Regions from separate parts of the Homo sapiens genome. Here regions 1 and 3 are each linked to region 2. Evidence: promoter capture Hi-C in 16 types of primary human blood cells and fetal thymus (Javierre and others, 2016). All regions are on one chromosome and are shown on one strand. Each heading gives the region's core, a stretch centred on a gene start or on the middle of the fragment in contact. The rest is flanking DNA. Distances are from core to core; before and after follow the strand shown. Region 1 holds the start of OR5D13 (olfactory receptor family 5 subfamily D member 13). Region 2 has its middle 8.1 kb from the start of OR5D3. Region 3 holds the start of OR5D14 (olfactory receptor family 5 subfamily D member 14).

Region 1 (3,348 bases), core at 73-2,572, 42 kb after region 2:
GAAATTATCCTAGTGTGGTGGTGCATGCCTGTAGTCCCATCTACTGAGGAGGATCACTTGAGCCTGGGAGTTCGAGGCTGCAGTGAGCATTGATCTTGCCACTGCACTCTAGCCTGGGTGACAGAGTGAGACCCTGTCTCAAAAACAAGCAAACAAAAATAAATAAATAGAAATAACTCCATATAAACAGTGCATGTTGAATGACTAGATTACAACCTTTGTTTATAATTTGATGTAGCCCACTGATTTTAGATTGGCTGTAATCTTTCATTCTTACCACTAATTTCAATAAAATTGCCTCAAGCTCAAAAAAAAAAAAAAAGAAAGAGAGATTATTTATTTCTTATTGGTTAAGAACATGTGTAATTTTCATTATACAACTTTCAGGGTATCAGAGAATATATTTTGTATGAAAATATTTTTGACAACTACAGATGTTTCTATTTTTCTAACATATTCTGTATTAGCACATATAGAATACATATTATGTGCATACATGTATACATATATATGTATATCTCAGAAGATGTGACCTAAAGCACATCAAGGAACAGGTAATGGAAATTTAATTAATTGACTTTATTTAATAAAATAATAAAAGTTCAGCAAATTGTCAAAATGCCCATAAAAACACTCCAGGAGGCAATGTACATTGATGAAAGTTTTAATGGAAGCTACATAAACATCTTAGAAATGGGCTTCCACAGCAAACTCTTGAGGATTAGGTGCAAGGCATAGGCTATATACATTTTATGGTTTATTTAAATTCTTAAATTCTACAATCATTTAATTCTGTGTTATGCCCAGCAAAGGTAGAAAATAGTAACATTTATGTGCCACCATTGGCGGTGCTAAATCACCTACTTGATCCTCAGTGTAATTTTTAGATCCATGAGAAGGTTTCCTTTGTGCTTCTCAGTTTTTAAAAATTGATTTTATGTCATAATATATATTTCAGTTCTATGTCAATCATACTAAAAATGGCTGACTTTTCAATAATAGAATGATTACTGTATATTTTCCATGTAAGTGGTGGTTTTTGCCCTTTAGCAGGCATCAAAATCACCTGGAGACTTGACTAAACCACAAATAGTGGGCCTCATCCCAGAGCTTCTGTTCAGAAGGTTGATGGAGCTGGAGAATTGGCAATAGTAGGAAGTTCCCAGGAGGTGATGCTACTGCTGGTTTGATGACCACATTTTGAGAATCACTGTTCTATATCACTTGTCCTAGAAACACATGAAGCCTCTTTCCTATCTCTTTTTTCCTATCCAGTTCTGCTTTTCAAGAATAACTTTTTTCCTTTTAATCCAACAAGTATCATGATGGCATCTGAAAGAAATCAAAGCAGCACACCCACTTTTATTCTCTTGGGTTTTTCAGAATACCCAGAAATCCAGGTTCCACTCTTTCTGGTTTTCTTGTTCGTCTACACAGTCACTGTAGTGGGGAACTTGGGCATGATAATAATCATCAGACTCAATTCAAAACTCCATACAATCATGTGCTTTTTCCTTAGTCACTTGTCCTTGACAGACTTCTGTTTTTCCACTGTAGTTACACCTAAACTGTTGGAGAACTTGGTTGTGGAATACAGAACCATCTCTTTCTCTGGTTGCATCATGCAATTTTGTTTTGCTTGCATTTTTGGAGTGACAGAAACTTTCATGTTAGCAGCGATGGCTTATGACCGTTTTGTGGCAGTTTGTAAACCCTTGCTGTATACCACTATTATGTCTCAGAAGCTCTGTGCTCTTCTGGTGGCTGGGTCCTATACATGGGGGATAGTGTGCTCCCTGATACTCACATATTTTCTTCTTGACTTATCGTTTTGTGAATCTACCTTCATAAATAATTTTATCTGTGACCACTCTGTAATTGTTTCTGCCTCCTACTCAGACCCCTATATCAGCCAGAGGCTATGCTTTATTATTGCCATATTCAATGAGGTGAGCAGCCTAATTATCATTCTGACATCATATATGCTTATTTTCACTACCATTATGAAGATGCGATCTGCAAGTGGGCGCCAGAAAACTTTCTCCACCTGTGCCTCCCACCTGACAGCCATCACTATCTTCCATGGAACTATCCTTTTCCTTTACTGTGTTCCTAATCCTAAAACTTCTAGCCTCATAGTTACAGTGGCTTCTGTGTTTTACACAGTGGCGATTCCAATGCTGAACCCATTGATCTACAGCCTTAGGAACAAAGATATCAATAACATGTTTGAAAAATTAGTTGTCACCAAATTGATTTACCACTGAATATGATGTTCTTAGATACGTTATTTCTGAAAAAAGTGATTTACTATCTTACAGATTACCCATCTCTTACAGTGCAATTGATTATTCAAATTATTTAATCAATAGACTATCAGTTGACACATTCACACCAGCACAACCTTTTGAAATAGATCTAAATGACATGTAACTAAAAATTCTAAAACCTAAAGCTTTTATATCATCTGTTGCAGTATTTGTAAATTATTTTAAAATACTTTTCTAGGTATTCTGTAATTTTATGTGTATTTTCAAAGCAAAACTGATTCAAACTGATTAAATGTGTGCAGATTCAGGATGGTTCCCTAAAATTGTAATCAGGAAAACCATATTCCTGAGTGACTTTAACAAAACTTCTGCTTACTGTGTCTTGTGGAACAACCAACCCTTTACTTTTTCTTGTTTTGAATGGAAGAAGTTGATTTTTATTCATGAAAATTATAGCCTGCTGATTAGCAAATGAAATGGAATTAAGTATTACTCTACCTTTCTTAATGCATGCCCTATTTTATTCTAAAAAATTATCTGAGTATTCAGGCAATGGGATATTAAGGTAACAGAGTCCTAAAATGAAGTCACACATATCTGGTAACTTATATTCCAACAAACAGGCCATTATAATTCAATGGAGAAAAATAATAATGGGAAAACTGGATATTCGTGTGGAACAAAAGAGCCATAAGTTTTATTTCCCATCATACAAAGCTACTAACTTGAATTAAATGAAATATATCATAAATCTAAATGTAAATGTTATAAGTACCTTTTAGCATAAAACATAGGGAGAATCTTTTCAAAGTTTGGGTGGAACTTTTTTGGATAGAATGTTAAAAGAATGGATCATCAGAAAATGGATAAAATGAATTTTATTAACAATAAAACCTTATGTTAAAAGTTTTTTTTATGGCAAAAGACACATTAAGAAAGTGAAAATGTAAGCTGCAGATTGTAAATAAATATTTGTAATATTTAGGTCTGACAAATGATTTGTTTGTGGAACATATAAAGAACTATTGTACTCAAAACAAGAAGACAAACCATCTAGTTAAAAATGGATTAAATGTTT
Region 2 (3,205 bases), core at 432-2,931:
AGGTATTTATTTATTTTAAAGAATTAGCTCATGCGATTATAAAGGCTGACAAATGCTGAGAACTTCAGGGTAAATTAGCAAGCTGGATCCCAGGGGAGCCAATGATGAAATTCTAGTCTAATTTGGAAGGCCCAAGAACTAGAGAGCCAGGGGTGTATTTCCAGTCAGAAGGTCAACAGTTTTGAGACCCATGAAGAGCTGATGTTCCAGTTTCAGTCTATAGGCAAACACCTAATGTCTCAGTTCAAAGGCAGAAAGAGGAAAGAATTTTCCTTTGCTTGGGAGAGAAGTAGCCTTTTGTTAGACTCAGGCATTTACTGATGGACGCGTCCCATCCCCATTAGCAAAGGCAATCTACTTTACTTAGGCTACTGATTGATTTAGTTGTTAATCTCATCCAAAAACACCCTTATAAAAACATCCATAATAATGTTTGACTGAATATCTGGGCACCCTGTGGCCCAGTTAATTGATGCATACAATTAACTTTTATGCACTTGTTCATAATAAAACAAAACAGAAGAAAACAAAAGCTCCCAGAAAAATAGAAATAGAAATGTCTTAATCTTTTACCTACCAAATCTGTAGGTAAATATCACAATTAAGGTTAAAATAATCGGCTAGGTGCAGTGGCTCCTGCCTGTAATCCCAGCAATTTGGGAGGCCGAGGTGGGCGGATCACAAAGTCGGGAGATTGAGACCATCCTGGCCAACATGGCAAAACTCCGTCTCTACTAAAAATACAAAAATTAGCTGGGCGTGGTGGTGTGTGCTTGTGATACCAGCTGCTCAGGAGGCTGAAGCAGGAGAATGGCTTGAACCAGGGAGTTGGAGGTTTCAGTGAGCCGAGATCGCACCACTGCACTCCAGCCTGGAGACAGAGTGAGACTCTGTCTCAAAAAAAAGCAAAACAAAATGAAAAAACAACAAAAAAGAGAAAAGAAATAATAGAAGCTTTGTTTTAAATTTCAACTCAAGAGAAGAATGTTCATTATTTCCACTTCTGTGGAAAGGTTGTTCTAGACAATTGAGTAAGACAGGAAAAAAAGAACATTAGTGAAGACAGAATAACACTTTCATGTTTTAAGATAATATAATTGTATGAACATCCAAATCCAAAAAGATCTATCAAAACCAATTAGAGTTAGTAAGGGAATGTAAAAGATCTCTCAATGTAAGATAATTAACATTTTTTTTCCTAGATCTGTGATATCTGTCTACATCCTTCCACATTGTATTAATCCCAGCATCCCTCAGCTTTAGAGATAGTAGTTCTTTTCTGCAGTAACCACTACTGTGGTATATTAAGGTTTTGTGGGGTTTTTGCCTTTTCATCAATTGTTTAACAATTGTAAAAATAATTTTTCTGTACTAAATGTTATGTTTTGAAATCCCTAGAAAAGATTGTGTTTTTCTCGAATAGACTCAGACTCTTGGTAATAATGTTCTCTGAACTAGACCTTCAAATATGGGTATCTAATCATACACTTGGCCGTGAAGACAGGGCTAAGCATCTTTAAAATAGAAATTGTATTCAGTAATCCATGGTGTATAGTAACGTGGCTAACTAAATAATCCTTTGTGCATGATTATAATGAAGTGCTCACTGAATCAAATGCCTGGAGGACTGAGGTGGGGGTTTCACAAAACTGTCATGGAAGTGGTGGTGATTACAAGAACTGGGATCTTCTGAATGCCTGGGAGAGCTTGCAAAAAGATAATAAAAATTCAGGGCATCCAAATGTTGGCATAATTTACTGTCAGAGAACTAGAGATATTTAAGACACTGGGCAAGTGTCCTCAATTTCTTAGTGAGAAACTGATGTGTCAGAGATGATGTCTTAAATAAATCCTATAAAAATACAAGTATTCTTAACATCAGAAAAGAATTCTTTTGATCTTGTGTTCTGCAGAATGTTGAGATATCCTCTCCAAAGCAAATGACAACTTAGGGCAATTTGTACTGCAATTAAGTGATTTAAAATGTACTGCGTCTTTCAGTTATGGAGGCAACACATATCACACTTGAGTAAGCTGTCGCAAACCATTCAAAAAGTAACCTTCAGCTTGCCTCTCTTGCATAATTCCTTACCAGACACTCTTATTGTCCCACCTCTATCTTTTGAATTTTACTCCCAGTGATTGTGGTAGTCAGCCATACATGGAACCCCCAATGATCCCATTCTCTGGTATTCACATCATTGTGGAGTCTCCTCCCATACTTTACCTGGCTTGGTCTGTGTGATGAATAGCATGTGGTAGGAATGAGAATACATAATACTTGAGGTTCAGTCTTAACAGTCTGGATTCTCTCTCTCTGTCTTTTTCCACCTACATTAGGTCTCTCATTCGGGAGGAAGTGGCCATATTTGAATAACCCTGTGAAGGGACCTTTGGGATGAGGAACCTAAGCTTCTGGCCAACAGCCTTCAAGGAACAAGAGGTGCCAGCAACCTTGTGAGTGAGCTTGGATGCAGAAGTTTGACATTGTTTAAGCCTTGAGATTACTGTAGCTCTGGAAGGCTGGTTGCAACCTCATGGGAGACTCTAAACTTGGAGCTAAGCTGCTCCTGGATTTCTGATGCATAGAAACCATGAGGTAATCAGTGTTTATTGTTTCAAACTGCGAAGTTTTGGGGATACTTTTTAGCTGTCAATGAATAATTAATGCAACTGTATTAGTCAGTTCTCACACTTCTATCAAGAACTACCTTGAGACTTGGTGATTTATGAAGAAAAGAGGTTTAATTGACATACAGTTCACAGGGTGTACAGGAGGCAGGTCTAAGGAGGCCTCAGGAAACTTTCAATCATGGCAGAAAGGTGAAGAGGAAGCAGGAATGTCTTCTCATGGCTGGCAGGAGAGACAGAGTAAAAGGGGAAGTGTACACACTTTAAACCACCAGATTTTCTGAGAACTCATTTACCATCAGGAGAACAGCAAGGGGGAAGTCCGCCTCTGTGAATCACCTACCAGGTCCCTCCTGCAACACTGAGGATCACAATCGACATGAGAGTTGGGTGGGGACGCAGAGTCAAACTATATCAGTGGATTTTTGGTGCCTGGGAATATATTGTTGCCAAATAAAAACCCAAGATGTTAAGGTGGCTTTGGAAATGAGCAGTCAGTTTTGAACAAAATATCATTGAAATCTTAATATGTTTTGGAGGTCTTTGATAAGATTACAGTTTAGAGATTCCAGGT
Region 3 (3,126 bases), core at 280-2,779, 64 kb after region 2:
TCAGGCTGAGCAAGAAGAAGCAATACAGCAAGGTATGGGCCACGGACATCTGTAGCACTTGATTATGAAATTTACTTGTGTTTTCAGGAATAGGAGTGCTATTGGCTGCTGCATATTTATACCCAGGATGCATGCAGGATAGATTATATCTCACTAAGAGGTGCACTGAATTTTGGAACAGATGAGGCAAGTATTTAAAGTTTTATTGTAATTTGAATTACATGCAAGCAAAGCTTGATAGTTAACTTCATGCTGCATTTTTTTTTCTGAGTAGTTTCAAGGAAATTCCAGTCACTAAATGTGACACAAGAGACTTGGTATTTGCCTTAATTGCCTGTTTTGATGCTTGTAAAGAGTAAGTTGTTAGTGATTCTCCAGAGTTTGAGTCCCTAGGGCTATGAAGTTAAATGAAAGAGTCTTGGTGCCTCAGGTATACACTGTCTGAAGAGACAGGAGGGTGGCAGCCTGTTTCTTTGTATGTAGCAGGTAAGTGTATTCAGGCTTTCTATGAAACTGAAAATAGGGTCTTCCTGATACGGCAAATGGGGCCTTTGATTTTTTAAATGTTAAATCACTGTGTTATTCAATTCTGTGCCCAATAATATTAAAAAATGAGGTCAACACTCATGAAAATATTTAGCCTTATATCCATTGAAAATTATCTCATGATGAATAGTATAAACTTGCTACTTGGAAATGGATATTTATCCATATTTCCTTTATATTCATCTTAAATTAGTGTGTAAATTTTTATAAGATTGAAAACTAGTCAGGCTTAAGGGAACTTTCACCTGATAAATCTTGAGACTCTTATAAGATACTTATGCAATACCTGAGCTATAGTAGATGCTGACCCTTAAGTCATAAACCCCAATAAAATGCCCATTCCACCAAGAGGTCAAAAGTAGGCCATTGTCCTTGTCAACTCCTCAGCAACTAAGATATTCAATGAGAGAAGTAGCCTTTCTAGAATAAAAGTTGGTAAAAAGTGGAATTAGTGTGCTCTTTTTCCAGATTTCTACAATATTTTCCTTTATCCTTAGAATAGAAATATATTCTGAATATTTTAATCAATTTGTCTATATAAACAAATACAGTAGCAATGCATGTTGTTGTTTGATGTAAATATTTTACATTTTCCACAGAATCTTTATTAGTTTATATATTTATGTATAAACATTTTCTATAAGTTATGTGCATGTCATGCTACTAGTTAATGTGTAGACATGTATACTACTGTACACATATACACACACATACACATACACATATATATTCACACATATATATATGTATGAAAACAGAAAGTGTAATAAAAATGGAAAGACACTCCAAAGACTTGGCTTGGTTTGTTTTAGACATAACAGCTGCCTGCATGAGGTATGTTCTTCTTGGACAAAACTAGGACCAGTAACTATTCCTTCTCCTTTTTTCCTTTTAATCAAAGAAAGTCATGACATAATTATCACTCACCCCATATTTTGCTTTGGCAGGAACAATTCTCTTCAACCCTTCCATTAAAAGGAATTATGATGATGGTTTTAAGGAATCTGAGCATGGAGCCCACCTTTGCCCTTTTAGGTTTCACAGATTACCCAAAGCTTCAGATTCCTCTCTTCCTTGTGTTTCTGCTCATGTATGTTATCACAGTGGTAGGAAACCTTGGGATGATCATAATAATCAAGATTAACCCCAAATTTCACACTCCTATGTACTTTTTCCTTAGTCACCTCTCTTTTGTTGATTTTTGTTACTCTTCCATTGTCACTCCCAAGCTGCTTGAGAACTTGGTAATGGCAGATAAAAGCATCTTCTACTTTAGCTGCATGATGCAGTACTTCCTGTCCTGCACTGCTGTGGTGACAGAGTCTTTCTTGCTGGCAGTGATGGCCTATGACCGCTTTGTGGCCATCTGCAATCCTCTGCTTTATACAGTGGCCATGTCACAGAGGCTCTGTGCCCTGCTGGTGGCTGGGTCATATCTCTGGGGCATGTTTGGCCCCTTGGTACTCCTTTGTTATGCTCTCCGGTTAAACTTCTCTGGACCTAATGTAATCAACCACTTCTTTTGTGAGTATACTGCTCTCATCTCTGTGTCTGGCTCTGATATACTCATCCCCCACCTGCTGCTTTTCAGCTTCGCCACCTTCAATGAGATGTGTACACTACTGATCATCCTCACTTCCTATGTTTTCATTTTTGTGACTGTACTAAAAATCCGTTCTGTTAGTGGGCGCCACAAAGCCTTCTCCACCTGGGCCTCCCACCTGACTTCTATCACCATCTTCCATGGGACCATCCTTTTCCTTTACTGTGTACCCAACTCCAAAAACTCTCGGCAAACAGTCAAAGTGGCCTCTGTATTTTACACAGTTGTCAACCCCATGCTGAACCCTCTGATCTACAGCCTAAGGAATAAAGACGTGAAGGATGCTTTCTGGAAGTTAATACATACACAAGTTCCATTTCACTGAACCAGTCTCAAAAGTTGTTTTCAATCCAAATGAACAACCCAAACAGAGGCTACAATGTTTCTAAAGCCTAGAGCATATATTTATATGAGGTTTTTATGGAATTGTCAAATGTGAATTGATATAGCATTCCCAGTATTATCAGGTTCAGAAATCTCTACAAGTTTAGTCCAGTTTATACAAAATGAATGAAAATAAACATTTAATCTGAAAACAATGAGAAACCATATTTCAAAATTATTTCTAACTTTTATATGAATGACTAAATAAACACAAATATTTGGTAACAAATACTATACAAATTCAAGCAACATTCTCCAAATTTTCTCTAAAAAGAAACCTTTCCCCTAGGAACAAAACTAGGGCTTCTTGGAGAAATGGCTAATTTGAAGTCTAGGGTGGAAAATAGGCAAGATGAGCTTTGGGCAATTTAATGCTCCAGAAAGATAGAATACTATCAGCAGCTAATCAGATTGTCTCAAAGAGATATAGGAAGCAATTTGAAATGGCTGATGCTGGTTTATGGTCAGAAAAAACTTTTTAAACATAAAAATGGATATTGATTACAATTGATTTAAAGTCCTCATATAGATTTAAATCTAGGTACTGAAAAAGAAAAAAATAAATAAGCCATTGTTTAATATCAATGGATATT

The links. The method cuts DNA at HindIII sites, captures the fragments that hold promoters and counts their contacts. A CHiCAGO score of 5 or more calls a contact.
Region 1: the fragment with the promoter of OR5D13 here is called in contact with a fragment that was not itself captured in region 2 in 1 of 17 cell types (neutrophils); the score reaches 5.6 in neutrophils.
Region 3: a contact is called between the fragment with the promoter of OR5D14 here and a fragment that was not itself captured in region 2, in 1 of 17 cell types (neutrophils). The highest score is 5.2, in neutrophils.

The regions. Positions count from the first base shown.
Region 1 is chr11:55,772,116-55,775,463 of GRCh38, forward strand. It overlaps OR5D13 (olfactory receptor family 5 subfamily D member 13), which reads left to right and starts at 1,323. Exons shown (of 1, transcript NM_001001967.1): 1 at 1,323-2,267. The coding sequence starts at 1,323. The coding sequence ends at 2,267. The HindIII fragment of the contact is 6,164 bases long and covers 1-2,453 here.
Region 2 is chr11:55,730,234-55,733,438 of GRCh38, forward strand. No RefSeq gene overlaps it. Among named protein-coding and RNA genes, the nearest start is that of OR5D3, 8.1 kb to the left of the region's middle. The HindIII fragment of the contact is 1,458 bases long and covers 953-2,410 here.
Region 3 is chr11:55,794,027-55,797,152 of GRCh38, forward strand. OR5D14 (olfactory receptor family 5 subfamily D member 14) reads left to right here and starts at 1,530. Exons shown (of 1, transcript NM_001004735.1): 1 at 1,530-2,474. The coding sequence starts at 1,530. The coding sequence ends at 2,474. The HindIII fragment of the contact is 1,368 bases long and covers 232-1,599 here.